Linked DNA regions of Homo sapiens: region 1 is linked to region 2. Evidence: promoter capture Hi-C in 16 types of primary human blood cells and fetal thymus (Javierre and others, 2016). All regions are on one chromosome and are shown on one strand. Each heading gives the region's core, a stretch centred on a gene start or on the middle of the fragment in contact. The rest is flanking DNA. Distances are from core to core; before and after follow the strand shown. Region 1 overlaps GLB1 (galactosidase beta 1). Region 2 holds the start of CLASP2 (cytoplasmic linker associated protein 2).

What was found. Contacts are between HindIII fragments. The CHiCAGO score rates a contact against its expected background, and 5 or more counts as called.
Region 1: a fragment that was not itself captured here is called in contact with the fragment with the promoter of CLASP2 in region 2 in 1 of 17 cell types (naive CD4 T cells); the score reaches 5.0 in naive CD4 T cells.

What each region holds. Positions count from the first base shown.
Region 1 is chr3:33,043,001-33,049,264 of GRCh38, reverse strand. GLB1 (galactosidase beta 1) reads left to right here. Exons shown (of 16, transcript NM_000404.4): 10 at 3,033-3,145. Among named protein-coding and RNA genes, the nearest start is that of GLB1, 51 kb to the left of the region's middle. The HindIII fragment of the contact is 188 bases long and covers 4,101-4,288 here.
Region 2 is chr3:33,716,559-33,722,656 of GRCh38, reverse strand. It overlaps CLASP2 (cytoplasmic linker associated protein 2), which reads left to right and starts at 4,403. Exons shown (of 39, transcript NM_001365631.1): 1 at 4,403-4,849. The coding sequence starts at 4,655. RefSeq lists an enhancer at 4,042-4,131 and a silencer at 4,332-4,671. The HindIII fragment of the contact is 12,344 bases long and covers 1-6,098 here.

The sequences.
Region 1 (6,264 bases), core at 2,945-5,444, 670 kb after region 2:
TTTTAGATAATCCCTCTGTGTTCATCTTATGAGAAACAGTTGAGACCTGGTGGGTGCCTTTTTCACTTAGTAGATGGGGATTCCCCCTAGCTGCCATTGATGGGATCGGGACCAATCATCCGATCCAGGAAAAAAGGCATCGTTTTTGGAACTTTATGGTTCATGACACAATTTTTTAAAAATCTTACTGTTATACTTAAAATAACACATTCATCTTAAAAAAAAATTGGACATTATAGAAACTGTCAGAACATAAATGTTGTCCTTAATCCTCTCTCCTGCCCCTCCCTCTGCCATAATCCATAGAATTCCCCTTTCTTCCTCTGTTGCCTTATTTAGCCTGCATATTAGCCTCATCTTAATTAGAGATTATCAGCACCACTTTTCAGATAAGAATAGCTGAATACAAAAAAAAGTCCACACGTTTTCTGTTCAGCTGGCAAGGGGTGAAGCTTGGACTGGAACTCAGGTGGTGGTGAGCCAGAGTCACTGCGCTTTGGATCACCCTTTGCACCCTGGAGCCCCTGAGCCAGCCCCCACACCCACCCCACTGTGTTCTGCCAAGCCTCCCTGAAGCTGCTTTTTGCCCTGTCTCTTTGAGGAAGTGAGAGAAGGCCAGTCTGTACTTAGCAGCTGTTCTTCAGGCCAGCTTCCTAGAGGAGAGCAGGGAGAGAAAGGCATCAGGAGTGGGGAGTTCACTGCCCATCCCACCCACAGGAACATGCACCTGCCTGTGCAGGTGTGTGTCTCCTTCCTCCACACCTGTGTGTGTCCACAGCTGTGTGATGGCTGCCTACAGGGTCCAGGCGCTCCTGTACTTCTCACACAATGTGGAATGTTGATGAATGCAAAGTCTCACCATTTCTTTCACCTTCCCACCTCACACCCTCTTAAGTGGCCAGAGGAGGCTTGAATCTGCACCATTTCTCTGCGATGCTGCCCTTTGGTGGTCTAAAAACACCCAAAGTAAGATTCTGCCAGTAGAACTAGAACAAATACTTAGTCTTCCAATCCATCCTTAAACCCACTGGACAGCTTCCCAGCCTGGGCTCCCTCGGCCTGTAAAGTGTGCTTCTAGAGGTCACACTTTCCCAACTCAACCTGGCAACCCCCTCCATGCTGGGCTCTGGCTAAGGACTCAAGGGCAAGTGAGGCACAGTCTCTGCCCCTGAGGTGCAAGCAGTGTAGCATGGAGAGAGACATAACAAATAAGAAACACAGCACAGCATGGGTGACTACCACATTAGAAGCAGACGAGGGCCACAAAGAAGGTGAGTTCCTTGCAGCAACGGATGTGGGTTTTTTTTTTTCTTTGTGTCTCACAGGAAGGGATGTGTTTTAACCTATGAATCCCTTAAGGCAGGCAGACCTGTTGGCTGTGAGTTGTCTCTGATTAATAAGAAATGGGGGAAATGGTATGACTAGATCAGTTCAGTTGGTTGAGTGGTCCAGATCTTTCAAAGTTTAGATTCTGTGCAGAGAACTAATGAAAAAGTCTTTGGAGCTGACCTGCTTGATCTGATCCTCAGCCTTGCTCATCTGTCACCTCCACAACCAGTAGGTCACCCAAGGTGGCTCCATCATTGGTGAGCTGCATCCAAGGAATTTATTACTAATCCTAGGTAAACTATCATGTTTTGTGCCTCATTGATGTACAAATTAGGTTGGACAAAAGACTATTCCTAAAATAACTTCATTCTCACACACTTGCATTGCAATATGCTCTCTGAAGTAGAGGAGGAAGGCACAAAGCCTTGCTGGTCTATGGATGGCAGCATCAGCGTCACCTGGACACCTGTTAGAAATGCAGTTTCAGGCCCCACTCCAGACCTGCTGAATTAGAATCTCTGGGATGGGGCTTAGGAATCTGTTTTAACAAGCTCTCCATGTGACACTTAAGCATGGGTAAGTTTTTGAAGTACCACCCAATGTTGCAGACAACCTCATACCTGTGAACATCATCCCTGACAAGGTCGGGATCCTCTGGTCTAGACCCCGCCCCTTGCACAGTGACTGCAGGGGCATTTGTTTTTCTAGTCCTTTTGTATACTCAGTGTTGGCATTATCCATTGGTCTTTGTTGTAGGTCAAGTTCCCAGGGAAACAGACTCTGAGATTACCTGGTAGAAAGCTTATTGATTGTGCTCTCTGGAGCAATGCCTGTAGGATAGAGAGGGAGAAGTGGGGCTATGATGCAGCTTCACAAGTGGCCTCATCCAATCTTAGAGGGAGCTCTGCAGCTGGGTTGGCTGTTCGAGGCACATTGGTCAGTTGTTGGATGTGGGCTATCCCTGAGGGTTGTAACCTTGGGTGAGGCAGCTCAGCACAGGCCAGCACCCAGAGACGGACACATCTGAGAAATGTCAGCAGACAACAGCCCTAGCTGCTGGGAGAATGAGTGAGTGCCCTGGTTCTAAAGGGGGATCCAAGAGGTGCACCACAGCCCCATCGACAGTCTTTGTAGATGCAACAAAGGCCCTCGGATTATGTTTGAACCTCTGTGGCTGATGTGGGTCTGCTGTCATCTCCCGCTGTGTTTGGTTTAATAAGCCCTGGGTTTTCTGCTGATCCATGGCCTAGTCATCTGTGTCTTCACCACTGAGCTTTTCTCAGCCACAGCTTGAGGACGTGAAAAAGTTCAGAGTTGACAGGATTAACAGTCAGAGATGGGGGTCATATCATAAGCCCTGCCATTACTGCTTGTGAGGTGTTAGCAGATTTTTGTGGGGAGCTTCAGATTCCCTGCTTGTCCAGTGGGGGTGATACCTGCTAGAATCACAGCTGTGAGCTTCTGTAGAGAGTGGATGGAAAGAGTCCTTGGTAAACTCTAAGGTGCCTGGTAACTGCTACCTGTAGAAAGAAATTCCTTCCTCTAAACGTTGCATCCTGAGGGTCACGTCTGTGTCTCCCAACAAGTGGTTTTAATGTGTCTTCTAGTTTTCTCTCTCTACAGTGCTGAGCTCATGGATCCCAAAGAACTTGTCCCAGAGCTGCACCATCAGTAATAACTAGTGGCACATTTTTGTCTTCTAGGGGCCAACTCACCCTATGCAGCACAGCCCACCAGCTACGACTATGATGCCCCACTGAGTGAGGCTGGGGACCTCACTGAGAAGTATTTTGCTCTGCGAAACATCATCCAGAAGGTGGGTGCTTTGTATGAGCTGTGGTGGGCTGATCTTGGACAGAGCCTCTTTTGAACTCACTGTGGCTCTGTGGACAACTTCCTGCCTGGAGCCCTCCTGTTTAAAAGGATGGATGAAGGGAGGCATCAGCTAGACTTGGGTTTGCATCTTGTACCCACGTGGTTAAGAGTGAGTCTATGAGCAGATGCTTATAGGAGAGTAGGAGATATAAGACATGTATTTAAAAACTGCAATATATAATACAGTGTTAAATGCTACTTACAGATTCACTTCTTATATGGTGAGAATTCACCCGGGGAAATTTCTGTCTCCATTTTCTTCTCCTTCCAGGCCAGATTATCTTTCCAAAAGTTCAGGTGAGAGGTAGGGTGATGGGAGAGAATGCACAGATCCTCTTGAGACTATAGCCCCTATTAAGGCAGCATGGATATATGGGAGCCCCTATCCTTGAGACACAGCTAATGTACTTCAATATCAAAAGAGGTAAAGCTAAGCTCTGGTTTCTTTATTTAATGCATCATCTGAAAAAAGTAAGTTTCCAGTAACCAAAGTGTATAAGAATTATTTCTCACTAGAAAATAACTCCGTCCTTATTTGCAAGAGAGAAGAAGATAAACTATTTTCCTTTTTATGTGTGGCCCAATATACAGACTATGTGATTTCAGAATGAGGAACACCAGATTTTGAACCTGGACACTATTTCTTCAACCTTAAGCCAATTGTGTAAATTCCCTTTATATAAAAGTAGAGGTAGCCGTACTTACCTCACAGACTTGTACAGTTTAAAAATAAATGGCACTCAATAAATGTTTGTTTTCTTCTTTCATAGTCAAATAAATGAACAATAATTATTTATTTACCTAAAAAAAAAAAAGAGTGAGTCTATGAGCAAATCAGTCTACTGATTGTTAATTTGTAAAACTGGGATTACAGCATCTGGTTGTGCTGTAAAGCTTGAAAAGAACGTATGTAAGCCATCCAGGACAGTTCCTGACACATATATGTCTAATAAGTGGTAGCCGTTAACTATTATTTATCTTAAATGTAAGAAAATGTGTGTCTACTTAAATAGCTGATGTACATAGGAAAAAAAATCTTCAGATACTGTGAAGCATGGTGCAGATGTCAGCTGTCAGTGAAGCTTCATTTTTCTATTTGGAGCAAGTGATTGCTGTTTCTGGACTGCATCTGAACTGCTTAGTCCTGCTAGCGTTGTACCCTTTTGAGGCACCTAATGCACCTAGGTGGGGTTTCCTGTCTCTGCTGTGGGTTAAAAGAAAAAACCCACAGTTTTTATGCTCAGTCACCTGAGTTTTGAAGTTAAAAAAACAAAGGTTTTCTGCCTATAAATGGTATGGTTTTTTTTGTTTTAAGTATGATGTCGTTTTAATTTTAAGCATGTGTTAAAATGAATATTACAAATTTTTTAAATATAAAAAATACAATCTAGACTTACCACACTTATAATTTGTCCATTTCATCTAAATTTTCAAATGTATTGTTAAAATGTTGCTTATGTTATTCCTTTATTATGGGTTTAATCTCCACAGAATTTATAGTAATGTCTCCCAAGCTCTCCCTTGTATGTTTGTTCTGTTTTGAAGCTTTCTGTTCCTATCTTTATTATTTCCTTCCTTTATTTGAAGCTTAGCTTTTTAATGCAGCCTTTCTTCTTTTCTAATATAAATATTTAAGGTTATAAATTTCCTTCAAGTACTGCTGTGGCTTTATCTCGTAAGTTTTGATGTGCAATCTATTTCTTACTGTTTGCTTCTAAACATATCTATTTTGATTTCTCTTCACCATTGATATGTGTTTTTTAAATTACTGGAAATAAGTACTTTCCTGTTTTTTTGATTTCTAGTCTTTTTGCATTCTGGTTAGAGAATATAGTCTGTGATACCAATCCCTTGAAAGCTGCTGAGCCTAGTCTTAGAGCCTGACATACACCAATATTAATGGTCAATGTGCGCATAAAAAGAAAGTATATTTTACAGTTGTTGACTATATTCTACATACATGTTCATCAGATTAAGTTTATTAATGGTGCCATTGATATCTTTGATCTGCTTCCTAATTTTTTGTCAGTTCAGTCTACTATTTAGTGAGAGTTGTCCTCATGTATTTCCCTTTGTAGCTCTGCCAGTTCTGAGGTTATGTTATTAGGTGGGCAAATTGAGAATTACATCCTTCAGTACTTAATAGTAAAGGGATTATATAACCCTCTATTTCTAATAAGGCTTTTTGCCTGGAAGCCTTTTTTTTTTTTTTTTTTCTTTTTTTGGTCTGTTATTCATTAACACCATTTACCTGCATACTTTTGCTTGGTATTTTTCTGAGGTATCTTTCCCAATGCTGTAATTTCATCCTTTTTATATCCTTTGTTCTGTTTACATGTGTCCCTTATAAACAGGATATAATCGAATTTTTAAAATATCTAGTTTGAAATTTCTTGTCTTTTAACTGATATATTTATACATTCTCATTCATTGTACTTCTTGATATACATAGATGAATTTCAATTATCTTATTTTATAATTTCTATTCGTTTACCTTTTTGGCTCTTTCTTTCCCTTTATTGCTTTCTTTTAGATTGAGGTTTTTTGTTTTGTTTTGTTTTTTCCTCTTATTTCTTTCCCCCCTCTTCTACTTTGGAAGTTATTCACTGCATTCTAATTTTTTTAGTGGTTACCATTTAAGTGTGACATCTATACCCCCAGAAAAGAACAACTCGTAGTACACAGCTCAGTGAATTTAGGCAACGGGAGCGCAGCCCTGTGACAAACACATAGCTCCCCGGAAGCCCCTCTAATGTCCCTCTCTAGTCATTGACACACATACCCATTCCTGAGCTCACAGCTGTCCTCACCTCTATCACCAGAGATTCATTTTGCTCGTTTTTAGGCAGCAAGTTCCTACAATATACACTCCTGTGTCTGGCTGTCTTGTAATAGTTTAAAATTAATCAATATCTTTACTTTCTCCATATTGCATCCCTCTTTAACTTACTGTAACTCCAATTACAGCCCTCTTGATTTGTATGTTATTATTGTCATGTATTTTAATTCTCTGGGTTTAGTTTTCATGTATTTTAGTTCTCTCCTTAAAAAATAAAACCC
Region 2 (6,098 bases), core at 3,154-5,653:
ACCTCCTTTCTTTTTTCTTTTTAGCAGAAATTCAGAGAAAGGCGGGTCCTAAATGAAAATATAAATAAATATTCAAAGAAATACAATATGTTTTGCAAGGAGTGTTATTATTGTGGTAGTTAATTCAAAACTTTCTTCTTCCAATTTTCTTTTCTTTAAGTCTATCTATTTGAAAGACCACAGAAGCCAGACATCCTGGGTTTGAATCATGGATCTGAAATCATGAGTGAGTCTGGGAACTTAATCTCTGAGCCTCAGCTTTCTGCTTGCTAAGTTGGGGATATAATATCTTCCATACAGGGTTGCTTAGAGGATTAAAAGCCCTAACACATGATTAGGCATGAGTCTTTGTGAAGCCCAGTCCTTATTGAATCCATACCTTCTTCCTGCATGATTACCATTTGTTTCCTGTTCTCTTTGTCTCTCTGAAAACTTGGGCATCATCAGGCATCTGTCTGCGTCAAAGTTCCCAAATTGTGTGGCCAGCACCCTGGGGTGCCGAAGCACACACACCAAGAGCACTCCAGGATATTTTAAATTTTGAAGGGCAATGGTGATCATGGGCATTTGTGAGACATGTAATGGCTCCAAGTAGTGCATGGTTTCAATATGAGATTGTGGTACATTTTTTTTCATTGATGTCGTGTCTTTGTATTGTAGCACATTTTTTTTGTTGATGTCATATCTTTGCAAGGCTGTGTTTTTTGTGGTTGTGTTGATTTAAAAAAAATCAATCAAATCTTTGAGCCCAGGAGTTCAAGACCAGCCTGGGCAACAAAATGAGACCCTGTCTCTACAAAAAATAGAAAAATTAGCCAAGCTGAGTATTGATGTGCTCAACTGCCTGAGTATTGATGTGCAACAGGATGAGAATGATGATATTCAGTCTCATTCCAAGGTTAGAGAAATTGGGCAGTAACCAGTAGGCACCGATATCTCATTTGTAAGTGTGGTTGTTCAAGAATGAAATTTAAAATACAATTTTTGATTTGCATATTTTTTTCATATGCCTAGTAAGTTGCTAGGATATAAATACTAAGTTGTTTGGATCTCACCTATTTAGTGGACTTCTTAGGTGTTTCTTTTGGTCTAGGGATGCTGTGAAAAAATGACTGAGGTGCTAGCAATTTTGTGAACTTTCAGCTCTAACAATGTTGAACCTAGGACAGATAACAGTGATATAAATAAAGATGTAGATTTTGTAGTGGGTATATACTGATAATAACAAATGGTTAATCAAAATAGTTGAGACTACATCTTGTAGACAAACATGCAACTCCCCAGGAAACCAATTCTTTAATTAGTTAATTCCTAGTTATCCTCAAAGTTCAATTTAAATATAACCTCTTCCAAGAAGCCTTCTTTAATTTATAACTTTTCTACTCCCATACTAAGTACTATCTAGATAAGGAGCCTCTCATCTAGGTTTCAAAAACCCTCTGTTTACCCTATCACAGCATCTCAGAAATGTTGATTTTCTTGTCCCTACTAGAGCTTGTGGGCAGAGACCAGGTCTAAATGAATTTTGGGTCTTTGGAACTTTGGCACAGTATCTAGCACAATATAGGTGCTCAGAGGATATTTGTTAATGAATTAATGAAACACAGAAAGAATATATAAGTAATAGTGACCAATGTTTACTATTAACTTTATAGGCCAGGTGCAGTGGCTTATGCTTGTAATACCACCACTTTGGGAGGCCAAAGTGTGAGGATTGCTTGAGGCCAGGAGTTCGAGAATAATCTGGGCAACACAATGAAACTTCATCTCTACTAAAAATAAAACACAATAAATGATAATTAATAATAATTTTACAGGTTCTTCCAGAGTTACTCCTAAAGATGATTTAGTTAACTTATAACTTAAAAATGACCTAGTGTGATTTTCAATTTACATTAAGTTCAGAAAGGGAATAGAGACAACCAAGGGTGAAGAGCAGCAGTCACCTTTGGTCACAGGAACAGGTAGAGCTGAACCTAGAATCCAGGGCTCCTGCATTTTTTTTTTTCTATACCACATACTGCACCTGGTCACCAGCAATTACAGTGTAAAGTTCTTCTGGATAGGATCCTCTTTTTATATCTTTCTGCAACCCTTTAAGAACAGAACCTTTGGACACTCAAACCCAAGGAATAGTTACCATAATGTATTAGTCAGGGTTCTCCAGAGAAACAGAACCGGTAGATAGATATGTGGAGAATCATTTTTTTTAATTTTTTAATTTTTTTTTTGAGACAGGGTCTTGCTCTGTCACCCAGGCTGGAGTGAAGTGGCACAAACACAGCTCACTGCAGCCTCGACCTCCTGGGCTCAAGTGATCCTCTTGCCTCAGCCTCCCATGTAGCTGGGACCACAGGTGTGCACCACCATGCTTGGCTAATTTATTGATTTTATTTTTGGAGAGACAAGGTCTCACTTTGTTGCCCAGGCTGGTCTTGAACTCCTGGGCTTAAGCGATCCTTCCACCTCAGTCTCCCAAAGTGCCGGGATTACAAGTGTGAACCACTGCACTTGGCCTAATGAGAGGATAATTATTATAGGAATTGGCTCACACGGTTAAGGGAGGCAAGAAGTCTCATGTCTGCTGTTTGCAAGCTGGAGAACCAGGAAACCTGGTGGTGTAATACAGTCCTAGTCTGGAGGCCTGAGAATTGGAGGACTGATGATATAAGTTTCTGTCTGAATACTAAAGTTTGAGAACCAGGAGCACCCATCTTTGAGAGCAGGAAAAGATGGATGTTTCCGATCGAGCAGAGAGAGTGAATTTGGCCTTTCTCCACACTTGTGTTCTGTTCAGGCCTCAACGAATTGGATGATGTCCACTGACATTGGGAAGGGCCATCTGCTTTACTCAGCTCACCAATTCAAATGATAATCTCTTCCATAAACTCTCTCACAGACACACTCAGAAATAATGTTTTGCCAGCTATTTGGGCATCTCTTGCCCCAGTCAAGTTGACACATAAAATTAACCATCACACATAGTTTACTTGATTGAGGCATAGTCTGAGGGAAATTACAACCAATTAAAGATGGAAGAAACTTTACAAACTCAATACAATGTGAAACACAGAAATACTGAAAAAAGAACACAGAAAACAGTCAATTTCTTTGAATTTTGAGTTTGTTTATTCTTAGTTATTGTGAATATTTCAAATATCAATTTTTGTTGAATTCATTCACTCATTTAACTTAAATTGGCCACCCATTATTTGCTAGGCACCACCCTAGGAAAACACAAAGGTTCCTGGAGCTTTCTGTGTATTAGAAGAGAAAGATATTACATAAATAATCATTTTGTTGTGATTGGGAATAATTGTCAAGAAGATAAACACAGTGTGCTTTTGGAATGTATTAGACAACTTTACCCCCACCAGAATGGCTAAAACTAATAACCCTGACCATATCAAATATTGTGGAGCAACTGGAACTCTCAAGCATTGCTGGTGGGGATTTAATATGATCCAGTCACTTTGGTAAACAATTTGGCAGGTTCTTCTAAAGTTAAACATACAACTTACAAGACCTAGTAATGCCAGTCCTTGGTATTTATTTACCCATGAGAGAAGAAAATATATCCACACAAAAACTTGTGCACTAACCGTTGTAGCAGCTTTATTCATAATTATAAAAAATAGGAAACAACCCAAATATCTACCAACAAGTGAATGGATCGACAAATGGTAGTGATTCCACAGAATGGAAAGCAATAAAAAGGAATGGACTTCTGAGACACCAACAGCGCTGGATGGACCCCAAACGTTATGCTAAAAGAAACCAGACTCCAAAGAAGCACAGACTGTATGAAGTTCAGGAACAGGGAAAACTATGTTACCATGCTAGAAATCAAATTAGAATTGCCTAGGGAAGAGCAGATAATTGGGAAGTGTCCTGGGACTTCCTGGGGTGTTGGAAACGTGCTGTACCCTCACTGGGGTGGCGGTTCCACGGGTGAATACATTTGCCGAAACTCATGAAGTGTACGCTGAAAATCTGTGCGTTTTACTTTAGGCAAACCTAAGTTTTGTTTTGTTTTGTTTTTTTAAGTATTACACAGTGACTGTGGTGGTGGCTGGAAGCAGAAGTCAGGAGTGTATTCTTTTTTTTTTTTTTTTTTAAACCGGCAGTGGGGGCGGGAAAGGGGGATGCCAAGTACTTTCCTAAGTGTTGAATACAAGTGGAGGCAAACTTGGAAACGTTCCACATTTCACAGGGCGAGGGCAGGGTGCCCTGACAGCGGCTAGCAAAGAACGGCCCGCCTCCCAGGGGGCTCGGCCCAACTCGGACCCCAAGTCTCCCTAGAGGTCCTATCGCTCCCAGCGGTTTCCGCAGCCACCTCCACCACCTCCGCAGCAAAACGCTAGCCGGACTGGAGGGCCCTCGCCGGCGTCGTGCTGACGTCACGCGCGTGCTGACGTCGCCCGCGGCCGCGGCCTCTGAAGCGGGCTGGGGATCGGGGGGCGCCGAGTTTGACTAGTTTGGGGGCGGCTGGGCGCTTGGCGTTCCTCCCGCCGCCCGCTGCGCCCCGCAAGCCGCGCCCCTGGCGGGCTAAGTGAGTCCCGCCCGCTCCCGCGGGGACCCGCACTGGAGGCTGGGCGGCTCTCGGCGAAAGTTGGCCGCTCACAGACTGGCAGGCGGGCGGGCGGCCGCAGCCATGGAGCCCCGCAGCATGGAGTACTTCTGCGCCCAGGTGCAGCAGAAGGACGTCGGCGGCCGGCTGCAGGTCGGCCAGGAGCTCCTGCTCTACCTTGGCGCCCCCGGCGCCATCTCGGACCTGGAGGAGGACCTGGGCCGCCTAGGCAAGACAGTCGACGCGCTCACCGGCTGGGTGGGTTCGAGCAACTACCGGGTAAGCGACGGCGGCGAGGCTGGGCTGGTCACGCCCTCCGCGGCAGCCCTTTAATCCCGGACGCGAGCGCCGGGCCGGGAAAGCTCCCGTCCGAACCACTGCTTAAGAGGGGAAACACACTTTGGGAAGCACAGGCGGGCGGATCACGAGGTCAGGAGTTCGAGACCAGCCTGACCAACATGGTGCAACCCCGTCTCTACTAAAAATACAAAAATTAGCCGGGCGTGGTGGCGGGCGCCTGTAATCCCAGCTACCCAGGAGGCTGAGGCAGGAGAATCGCTTGAATCTAGCAGGCAGAGGTTGCAGTGAGCCGAGATCGAGCCACTGCACTCCAGCCTGGGCGACAGAGTGAGACTCTGTCTCAAAAAAAGTAAAAAATAAATAAAAATAGGGGAAACAGGGGGGTCCCGCGTCCCCACTGGGCAGACCGCCTCTTCGTACGCGAGCCGAGGACTGACTTGTGACCACATTTTTCTACACTTGTGGACAATGACAAATTCAGCGATTCCGTGACACGTTGCGGAGTTACTAGGACACAATGTTGATCACTTATTTTGAAAAAAAAATCAGTGAAAGACTTCGACATTTGTGTTCACCTGTGTAAACACTACCCAGACCAACAGATAGGACATTAGGATACGATTTTAGGTTGATGTGTCTTAGTAGATAGGCTAATGCTGGGGGGGAAAAAGTTACAAAGATGAGGTGCGAGAAAGAATGAGCCTTTCTGAAGAGTTGGTGGTAGGCAGGGTGTAATGTAGCCGCGTTGGGAGGCCAGGTAAATATTTTGTATTTAACTTGCCCCGTAGTCGTTAGTAGTTACTTTTCTTTCTTGTCTTCTGGTGGCAGTGTTGCTTTAAAATGCTGACTGCAGCTTCCCATGGATGAAGTGATTCTTCTTAGTAACATATTCTCATGATCCAGCGAATAGGCTGTACTTTGAAACCTTTTATTCAAAAAGAGAAGAAAGACAAACTCTAGAATTATGACGCAGATTTAATGGTAAAGCCCAGATGAGTTTTGGAAAGGTTAGACTTTTTACAAGGACAATAAAGTTTGAGAGTTACCCACGTCGATGCTTCATTACATACCATCTCTTGATTATTATTTTTAAAACGTTTGGGGAAAAGGTAATTTAATAATATATCATTACCATTTGGGAGATTATTTCTTTGGAAGAAACAAGCTAAATTTACTCTGTAAGAAAGGCATATACATATTCACACTCAAGATAGTTGATTTTATGCTA